3 separate regions of the Homo sapiens genome follow, and regions 1 and 2 are each linked to region 3. Evidence: promoter capture Hi-C in 16 types of primary human blood cells and fetal thymus (Javierre and others, 2016). All regions are on one chromosome and are shown on one strand. Each heading gives the region's core, a stretch centred on a gene start or on the middle of the fragment in contact. The rest is flanking DNA. Distances are from core to core; before and after follow the strand shown.

Region 1 (3,442 bases), core at 645-3,144, about 34 Mb before region 3:
TTTCTTATTCTGGCTTAAAAAATTTTAAGTCATAATTTCTGATTTCACCAGTAAAACTAAACAATTTTGGCTCTAGCCAGCTGTTGGGAAAACTCAAAAGAAATTTAGGTGCTACAGAAAGAGAGGTTAGTAATTCCAATTGTTCAGCTCTTGCCTTTAGAGTATTCTCTGAGTTGTGTTGGAGTATGTTATTGAGTTGCTGTGAACTACTGCTGCCAACTTCTACCCTAGAGATGGCTATATTTCAGAGATGAGTGAAATTATATTTGTAAACAAGTTTATAATCATTAATAAAGCTTACCAATTTAAGCTCTTCAGAAATACACATCCACTATTATAATTTTCTATTGTTTAATTACAACCTTTAATAGAGACATGAAGACTTTTAAAATGTATAAGAACTCTAAACTTAATTAAATTTGATTTCATGATGTTTATTTGGTTTTTGTAAGTTTCAGGTGTCAAATTATTTCTCCTTAGAGATCCTGGTGAAATTCCACCATTGACTGTTCCAACGTACTGTTTAAAAATCCCTAAGAATATTTTTCTTTAAAGTTGACAACTGTGCACTCTGGGATCCAGATGCTATATTCGCAGTACGATGATTTTGTTCTGTTTTCCACACATGGCCTTTTCATACACTGTCTCCCAGGGATGAAAAATTCTGCCTTGAATGAGAAGTTTTAAACCTTGCTTGAAAATAATAAACACGATACTTTACATGTTTATGGCCATTTAAGTTAAAAAAACGTGCATTTACATGTATCATATTGTTTTACTCTCAAAATTAGTCTTGTAAAGGGAAAAAAGGCATTAAGTAATTCAGTAAATTGTCTGCTGCATGCTAGCCACTATGAAGGGACTGCATGATAGACAAGGCAGTCCCAAAACTTAGAATTTCCTTGGGAAGGTAAGACACGAACAGAATTAACAGCAATGGGGTGGTACATAAGCGTCTCTTCCAATTGAGAAATAGAGGGGCAAAAGGAGATTTATGTGCCGCATTGTGCTAGGAAAGGCACATGTATTATCCCCTGAAACTCGAAACCCGTGTTTGGGGCATGGTCTCCACATGATTTGCACAGTCCACCACAGTGTGAGTCCCCACGGGGGTCCTTTTGACGTCGAGCCCATAGAGTCGTGATGGAGTCTTAGACATGAGGTAGAACTGGCTTTTTTACTCGTGAAAACACTGAGGCTCATGGAGGTGAAATGACTCGGCCAAGGTCACACACACTGATAGCGGCAGAGGCGCGGCCGGAACCAGGTCTTCTGATGCCAGCCCAGTGCCTCCCTACATCTCTACTCCCTGTGGAAACTATTTGCTTCCCTATCGCCCTTCGTCTGGGTGGGGGATGTCATTTTCAGTCAATTTACGGACTTTTCAAAAAGAGAAGGGTGGATAGGAGATTGGAGAAAAGTTTCCTTTCGGTCAGTGAAGAGGCCTGATTCGTTCCAACACCATTTATGGACCTGCTCCTGCCAGGCACTGGGCATCCAGGACACAGCGAACACAGATCCCCTGCCCTCAAAGACGCCCTAGTTAGGGGCGTCTCCGGGTCTTTGATGACCTCCTCTCACGAGCGGTCCCCAGCCCTCCCCAGGGCTCACCTGCCGGCCTCTGCAGGTACCCACGTCCCTAGGACCCGCCACTGGGCCAGGCCCAAGCAGCATCAAGCCCCGGGTCCCCGCCATTGCGCCCGCGTCGCGCGCCTCCAGTCGCCACGGCAACCAGGGAGGTGCTGACCCCTGACCTCGAGGCCCCGCCCCTTCACGTTCCCGAGACCAACATGGAGAAGGCCAACCCGGAAGTGCCGCCGCAGCCGCCCGCCCGGTGTTAGGAGCCGCCGGCCGGGCCAGGCCGAACCAAGCGCCCGCAGCCCTGCAGCCCGCTGCCCGCCCCACGTCCCGCCGGCGCCGGGGCGGCCGCGTTCCCCGCCCTCCCCCACTCCACCCCTGGCTACCCGCTCCCGCCCGAGAGGAGGAGCTGAGGCGAGGGGGAGGAGGAGGAGGGAGAGGTTTGCGAGAGGGAGCGAGGCCGCGTTAGCCGCCGGCGGTTCGTATTACCGGGGTCGGGAGGAGGAGCCGGGCCGAGCCTGCGGACGAACGCCGGGCGGGCGGGAGGCGCGGAGGCAGCGGAGGCTGCTCGGCCGCAAGGAGGCAGGCGGGAGGCCAGGGGTGCAGAATTGGGGCGGGGGCTCCCTTCACCCCCGCAGCCCTCCGCCCGGGTCCGTGTGGCCAGGCCTCACGTGCCCCGCAGGCCTGGGGAAGGTGGAGACAGGGGCGGGGGTCCGCGCAGAGGCCTGCACGGCGCGGCCAGGTGATGGTGGGCCTCTGTGTTTCTCCAGACGAAAGGGGACCCCCGGAGCGGCCGTGCCCCTGGGCTGCCCCCGCGAGGCGTTTTGACATCAGCCATAGGGAAGTCGGGGAGCCCTGAGCCTGCCTGTTTCCGTTAAGTGTCCTTAGGATGCAGTGATTAAGGAATTAGGCTCTCCCTCCGGGAGGGGCACTGCCTGTGCTAGGGAACTCGGGGGCAGAGAAACAGGACAGGATGATGCTGTCCGAGCAAGCCCAAAAGTGGTTTCCAACCCACGTGCAGGTCACAGTGCTCCAAGCCAAAGATCTGAAGCCAAAAGGCAAAAGTGGTACCAATGACACATACACTATAATTCAGCTGGGCAAGGAAAAGTACTCCACCTCTGTAGCTGAGAAAACCCTTGAGCCAGTTTGGAAGGAGGAGGCCTCTTTCGAGCTACCTGGATTGCTAATTCAGGGAAGTCCAGAGAAATACATTCTTTTCCTTATAGTTATGCACAGGTCCCTGGTGGGTCTGGATAAATTTTTAGGGCAGGTGGCAATCAATCTCAATGACATCTTTGAGGACAAACAAAGAAGGAAAACAGAGTAAGTTATGTAATTTATTTTGAATTTGGGGGAGTTTATATCTTATTTATGGTTTTTCTGTTCTTGGAAATTATCCGTATACTTCGGGCGTTGGTTTTTGGATTGAAATATGATCCAGTTTTAAGCACCATATTTGCATGAATCTGAAGTAAAAGTAGCACTCGTGATGAAATATTTTTTAAATGGAATCATTAATGATCCCTTATTCTTTCTGTTAAACATCTGTCAAATAATTGAATATTTTGTGGTGGATTTTAAGTAAGTTAACATTGTTTCAGTATGAGGACTGGATCACAGTATTGACCAACTAGAACTTCATATAAATTGTTATGGATTTTAAACCTTACAATTATCAATGAAATGGAAGATGAGAAATTAAATCTGGCAATGTAATGTTGATGTGTCGCACTTTGTAGCTGTCAAAAGATAAATCACCAGATTTAGAACTCAGTATTTCGTTTCAGCGTTATAAACACAGCTTTTATTTTAGCTCAGCCATTTTTCAGGGTCAGTGTGCCTTGATGGGAGTCTATACCTG
Region 2 (3,232 bases), core at 80-2,579, about 32 Mb after region 3:
TAAAGCCTTGAGGATGTGAACATAAATGTTGGTATCATAAAACAAGTAGTAATAAAAGCATAAATTATCAAATATCAGGTGATCTTACTATGGAGAAGAAAAACCAATATCTAGTTACAGATGAAAAAATGTTTAATACAAAGAGCTGAAAATGTAGAAATTGAGTTATCTTCCCTTTGCAAAATTTTTACACTTTAAATTAGTAATTCTTTGTTTGCAAGGTTTTCATCCCTATGCTGTTGTTTTCTACTACCTGTTTTACTCTTGTTCATACTGCTACTTTCCCATGTTTCCTATATGCCTCCCCTATATTGGAGAGGATAACTCGCGTTTACATATGTGATAGTTATGCTTAATACTAATTCACAGAGTTGGCTCGATCATTTTGAGATTCTAGTTGCTTTATCTCAAAGCTTTCACTGAAGGGCTGTAACTGAAAATTATTAAATGTTAGTCTTTAGTCAAATCTCTGCATTGTTTCATGCAGAAAATAAAGATACAATTAAGGCTGACATTAGTATCTGATATGTTTATTTTTAATGAATACATTATACAAAAGTCTTCCATTCTGGATATACATGGGGCCTGATTACCTTTTGTTTTTAATGAAAAAGGCAGAACTAATGAAATTGCAGGAATGGATGGAACTCACTTAGAGCCATTATCTATATAGTTTGACAGTTGAAATAACTATAAAGATGGGCCATTTTGTGGTTGGTATAAGCAACATCTTGGCGGTAGTCAGATATTAAGCTTATGTTCCCCAGAGAGAATTCCTCTGTATTTCAATAGCACCTCGTAGCTATCTTCATTACTGACAACATTAGTTATATTGCAGTGCACTTTTTACGTCCACTTCCACAAACTGAACACAGGGACAGCCTATCTCATTCCCATATTCACAGATGGGAACAGGACAAAATATTTTATTAGAGTTATTAGGGGGAAAAAATCCCATTAAGAGCACATATGCTGCCTTCATAAGGGTTTAGATGCAACACAGAACAAATGAGCTATAACAACTATTTCCATTTCAAAAAACAATTAGAAACAGGTTATTAAAAACAATCACCTCTACTCTGTGAAAGCTAAGGAAATAGATTCTCCTCACTTCTGAATCATTGAACATTCCAATATTGATGTAGAAAGCATAGAGCCTTATTTCATTTGATAGTAAAGAATAAAGCAAGCAATATTGCCACAATCAGAATCTTTTATGTGTTTTTCTACACAATCATCGTTTATAACCCCTCACATCCTGAATTTTCCCTAGGATGTGTAGACTAAAATAAAATCACCAATTCATTCATCATAATAGTTGAAGATGACAGGGTGAAACAGTGATTTGCTAATGCTTCTTTAAGGCTTATCCTCTTGGGCAGTACATGTTTTTTGGGATTATGAAATGATCAACTTTAATCAGTGCCTGCCCATTAGTCCTTGCCCTAATATTACTGATGATTAATACCAAAAATATGTTTTAATATCTGCTGACTTCCTAGGATTTGGGAGTATTTGATAAGATATAAGCCAATGTGAATCCCAGTCAAAAGTAGGCTTATCTAAGTAAGATTATGTTTGGCTTTTCAACTACACTTTTCAGAATTTTAATGGTAGAAAAACATTTAAGAAAGAAAACCGTTAACGTAATCACGGCTTGCAGAGCTTCTTGTTTTTCCATGCTGTGATGGGACATTAGCTAAGCACACAGAACATAATTTCCTATGGTGTGTCAGGCCTTTCTCTTAGGTCTGATGAGGTCTAAGGATAATTATGTGCAACAACCTACTGTGGCAGAGAAACTGAATTATCAGTTACATCTGAGAGTCTTCTCACAAAAGAATGTCAGTCTCTCACTGCTTTATATTAGCTAATCTCTAGACGGACTTTCCTGGTTGAAGCTTACTTTTTTCATCAGTCTCTTATCAAGAATGCTCTGGTTAAGAACTAATTCATATTACGGACATCATTAATATATTGTAAGTATCCATAAATATAAATTTTAATATTAAATGTTAATAGGGATATTACATGATATTGGCATACTATATAATGTGCTTATATATATTTATTTCAAATGTTAACTGAATCAGATCTTTAAATATTTTCGTTTGTTTTTATGCACCCTGAAACAAAAGTTTACTCCTTTGGTTGAAAATTCACCTTCACAAATATTCATATTACCAATTACCTTTCTCATAAAATATTAACTATCATGTTTGTTCTTGATATTATTCTACAACAATATATAACATGTCATTTGAGGGCATGAATTGTGTCAAAAGTGACACTTGGGAGTCGGGCATGGTGGCTTATACCTGTAATCCCAGCACTTTGGGAGGCTGAGGTGGGCAGATCACTTGAGGTCAGGAGTTTGAGACCAGCCTGGCCAATGTGGTGAAACCCCATCTCTACTAAAAATACAAAAATTAGCCAGGCATGTTGGCAGGCCCCAGTAATCCCAGCTACTTGGGAGTCTGAGGCACGAGAAGCACTTGAACCTGGGAGGTGGAGATTGAAGTGAGTCGAGATTGTGCCACTACACTCCAGCCTGGGCAACAGATGAGACTCTGTCTCAAAATAAAATGAATTTAAAAATAAGTGACACTTGGGGTAACATCATTAAAAATAACAAACCTGGTGCTTATTAAATACTATTAAAAAGCACCCAAATATTTACCAAATAACAGCTTTTTTTTTTTTTTTTTTTGAGGTGGTGTCTCACTTTGCTGCCCAGGCTGGAGTACAGTGGCACAATCTCAGCTCACTGCAACCTCTGCCTCCTGGGTTTAAGTGATTTCCCTGCCTCATCCTCTCAAGTAGCTGTGATTACAGGCGTGTGCTACCATACCTGGCTGATTTTTGTAGTTTTAGTAGAGACGGGGTTTCACCATGTTGGCCAGGCTGGTTTTGAACTCCTGACCTCAAATGATCCACCCGCCTTGGCCCTCCCAAAGTGCTGGGATTAGAGGTGTGAGCCACCACACCTGGCATTTAATAACAACCCTTTATAACCAAGAGTTGGTTTAGATTCCCAAACTAGGTAACTACCCTTTAATCATAGGGTTTTAAAAATAAAAAAATAAAAAGTACGTAGCTAATTACAAAAAATACACAACATTCTCAATCATAATTAATTTTATATGATTGAGTATGTATAATATCTGCAGACATTTGAAATGAATCTCATATGTATTACAAAGGTTGGTCATTTAAAAAAATATATCTGACG
Region 3 (3,167 bases), core at 276-2,775:
ATCCAAAGAAGACATGAATAGCTCTTCAAGGTTATACTGCATTACAAAGCTAAAAGGTATTAAAAGAAGCCAACTATATGAATTTCAGCTAATCATACCAAATATTACTTTCCTTCAACATGAGATATAAAAATATTCTAAGTTAACCTATTCTATATGTCCTACTATAATGCGTAAAGGACATTTAGTCTTTCAAAGTAAACAAGTAAACTCAGTTACCAACCAGGTTTCCCTTACATTAGACTCCCTCGATGGTGTCTTCAAAAGAAAAGCATGCTAAAAACTGGATTATCTTAGCTCCAGGGCACATTATACTAGATGGGTGGTCAACCAGAAGTCAGCAGACAGTGTTTCTGTAATGCTAAGGTGAGGTGACTACAATAGGTCAGAATGAAATGACGAGTGTAAACCAACTGGGGCTACCAGCCCATCTCTGCCAATGATTTGTAGTGAATTCTAGGCAAGTGATATACTTCTGGGCCCATTTCCCCATCTGTAACATAAGGATTCCGTGTTCAGACTACAGCGTTGACCCTTAGACTACCTGCTTGAAAGTGCCCCGGATGCATCTTAAAATGTAGGCTCCTGGGTCTTTCTTTGCTCCTAATGATTCTACCCCTAGGAATAAGACCAAGAACGTGTGTTTTAACGAACACTCCAAAAGCTAAGAACTATTGCTTTAAGATACCCGAGCGTCCTCCGAGCTCTGCAACTGAACTATTAAGGGTCTTAAAATTCGGCACCCGGCCTTTGGGAAAACACCCAGCGCTTTTGGAACTTTCGTGCCATTACATCATCTCAACCTATGGCTGTCCTGTATCTTCCTCAGTACTCAGTCCACTGGTTGGGGCCGAAGAGGTCCAGCTCAGAGTGACCTCCATGTGGCGTAACAGCCCAGAGTGGGAATCCCGCTTCTGACAGGTTAGAAGTGACCTTGTGAGGAGTGTGGATCTCTAAGACTCAGATGTCGTTGCTATAAAATGGGGAAAATACTACCGACCCTAATCCAAGGGCTTATGCCTCCGTGAGCATTGATGAGTTTGGGTGCCTGGTCCCCGAGAAAGTTCACCCAGCCCGCTAGATTCAGATGAGAACCCGGCAGCAAACTTCCCTGTCAACCCACAACACCTCTGCCCCTGCCCCAGGTGCCGCTACCAGCGCAGCGGCTGTACGGCCTCGCCGCAAGGATGACTCAGCACCTTGTTGCCCGAGGACAGAAGCACAGCTACACTGAGCCCTTGCCCGCCTGACCAGGGCCTTGTGCCGCCGCCCTCTCCACCAGGTCACCCACAGGACTGCGACCCCAACGCGCAGGCCGGCCCTGACGCAGCCAGCAGCACCGCTGCTTCCAGCCCTTCCCCCCGCACCCAGCGGTCCCGTGAGGGCGGCTGTCAGGACCACCGGGGATCCCGGGCGCCCGCCGGCCAGCCGGAGCAGTACCTCGGTCCCCGGTCACCTTCGCCTCGCAGTTTCCCTTCCGGGCCCCTAGCGTCGGCCTCAAAGAGCACAGTTCCTCCGGCGCACTGCATGACGCAACATCGAAAGGACGTAAATAGTACGAGCAGCCAATCACGGGCAGGCCTCTGTCGGAAAAGCGGCCACACTGGGGGAGGCGGGGTTCCGGGTTGAGGAGGCGGGGTTCCAAATTGGTGGGGCGGGGCCAGTTGAGGATTGTTGCAGGGAACGTCATAGTCAGCGTCCATTTTGCGTGTGGGCATGGGAGTCGTCTCGGCCATCTTTGTTTTGGGCAGTGGAGCTCTGTTTTGCTTTTGTTTTAGTCGTTTCACTCGCCGCAGCTATAAGAATTATGTAAAAATTGAAAGAAAGTAATGTTAGAGTTAAAAATTATTCCGTTTATTCCGTTCCTTTTTGAAGGCCTTTTTGTCCCTTAATTTATCGTGAGATAAATATCTTTTCAAATGTGTCTGCTTCTGAGCCGAGTCATCCGGTTTCTGGGGTCTCATGCCAAATGTTAGATGGTGACATCCAGAAAAGATTTTTTCTAGATGGTTTTTTCATTGCTTTGTGACTTTCCCGCCCACATTTTCAAGTTTCACCCTAAACCTGTGTAATAGGCCTGATAACAGCCGCCTCTGCCTTGCACCCAGGATTGCTCTGAGGACTAAGATGTTTCCATTGCGCGTAATTTGATAGGTGAAGAGCTAGTTGTGGAATACGCGAGAGAGTTACTTTCTTTTTCACTCTCCCTCTATTTCAACAGATATTTACTGAATGCTCAACTTCGTACCAAGCTCTGTTCTAGAAATATATACAAATGAATCAGCCGGGCGTGGTGGCTCAAGCCTGTAATCCCAGTACTTTGGGAGGCCGCGGCGGGTGGATCACTTGAGGTTAGGAGTTCGAGACCAGCCTGGCCAACGTGGGGAAACCCTGTCTCTACTAAAAATACAAAAATTTGCCAGGCGTGATTGGTGCCTGTAATCTAAGCTACTTGGGAAGCTAAGGCAGGAGAATCACTTGAACCCAGGAGGCGGAGGTTCCAGTGAGCCCAGATCCCGCAACTGCACTCCAGCCTGGGCGATAGAGGGAGACTCAGTCTCAAAAAAAAAAGAAACCAAAAAAACAAAAACAAAAAAACAGCAAATGAATTAAACCCGTGTGTGCTACCACTATTTTAACAAAATAAAGTCCTTGCTCTGTGGCTTTACTTTCTGGTAGAGACAGAACATAGAAAAAATATAATGTGATAACTTAATACCATGAAGAAAGAGCAGATTAAAACCCTGAAAGGGTGATAAGGTGATTAACAACATGCAAAATTCATGAACCTTTATCTCCTAAGCAGTAGTTAATTGTGATTTATGATTCCTAATCATGTAAACCTTGACAAATATAAAGACTTGCCTTCTATGTGGATAATAAAAGAGTCTGGCAGCAACACAATTCTTATCTCTTTACGCTGAAAATGGCAGGAAAACACTAGAGAAATCTCACGAAACTGAACAGATCAAGCATGATCAGTTTAATTTTTATTTTGATCTATGCCCAATTTTATTAGCTAGCAAATAGGTTTTCTGTTTGGCTCCTTCAGTGATAGTCTTTTTTTCTAGAGCTTCTGTTATCAGCAAAGAGAAAGGATTTACAACACAGTACCAGAATAAAGATCTTGAAGTCAATGACTCAAGCTTTCTTCAAGATTCCTATTA

What was found. Contacts are between HindIII fragments. The CHiCAGO score rates a contact against its expected background, and 5 or more counts as called.
Region 1: the fragment with the promoter of CASC2 here is called in contact with the fragment with the promoter of GHITM in region 3 in 1 of 17 cell types (non-activated CD4 T cells); the score reaches 7.0 in non-activated CD4 T cells.
Region 2: a contact is called between a fragment that was not itself captured here and the fragment with the promoter of GHITM in region 3, in 1 of 17 cell types (activated CD4 T cells). The highest score is 5.0, in activated CD4 T cells.

What each region holds. Positions count from the first base shown.
Region 1 is chr10:118,045,273-118,048,714 of GRCh38, reverse strand. It overlaps CASC2 (cancer susceptibility 2), which reads right to left and starts at 1,894. Exons shown (of 4, transcript NR_026940.1): 1 at 1,612-1,894. It overlaps RAB11FIP2 (RAB11 family interacting protein 2), which reads left to right and starts at 1,774. Exons shown (of 5, transcript NM_014904.3): 1 at 1,774-2,904. The coding sequence starts at 2,552. RefSeq lists a silencer at 1,847-2,336. The HindIII fragment of the contact is 9,012 bases long and covers 299-3,442 here.
Region 2 is chr10:51,692,766-51,695,997 of GRCh38, reverse strand. The region is part of intron 3 of PRKG1 (protein kinase cGMP-dependent 1); the gene reads right to left. CSTF2T (cleavage stimulation factor subunit 2 tau variant) reads left to right here. Exons shown (of 1, transcript NM_015235.3): 1 at 1-512. Among named protein-coding and RNA genes, the nearest start is that of CSTF2T, 5.2 kb to the left of the region's middle. The HindIII fragment of the contact is 1,148 bases long and covers 756-1,903 here.
Region 3 is chr10:84,137,867-84,141,033 of GRCh38, reverse strand. GHITM (growth hormone inducible transmembrane protein) reads right to left here and starts at 1,525. Exons shown (of 9, transcript NM_014394.3): 1 at 1,441-1,525. RefSeq lists a silencer at 1,245-1,444 and enhancers at 1,018-1,587, 1,588-2,157. The HindIII fragment of the contact is 9,095 bases long and covers 1-3,148 here.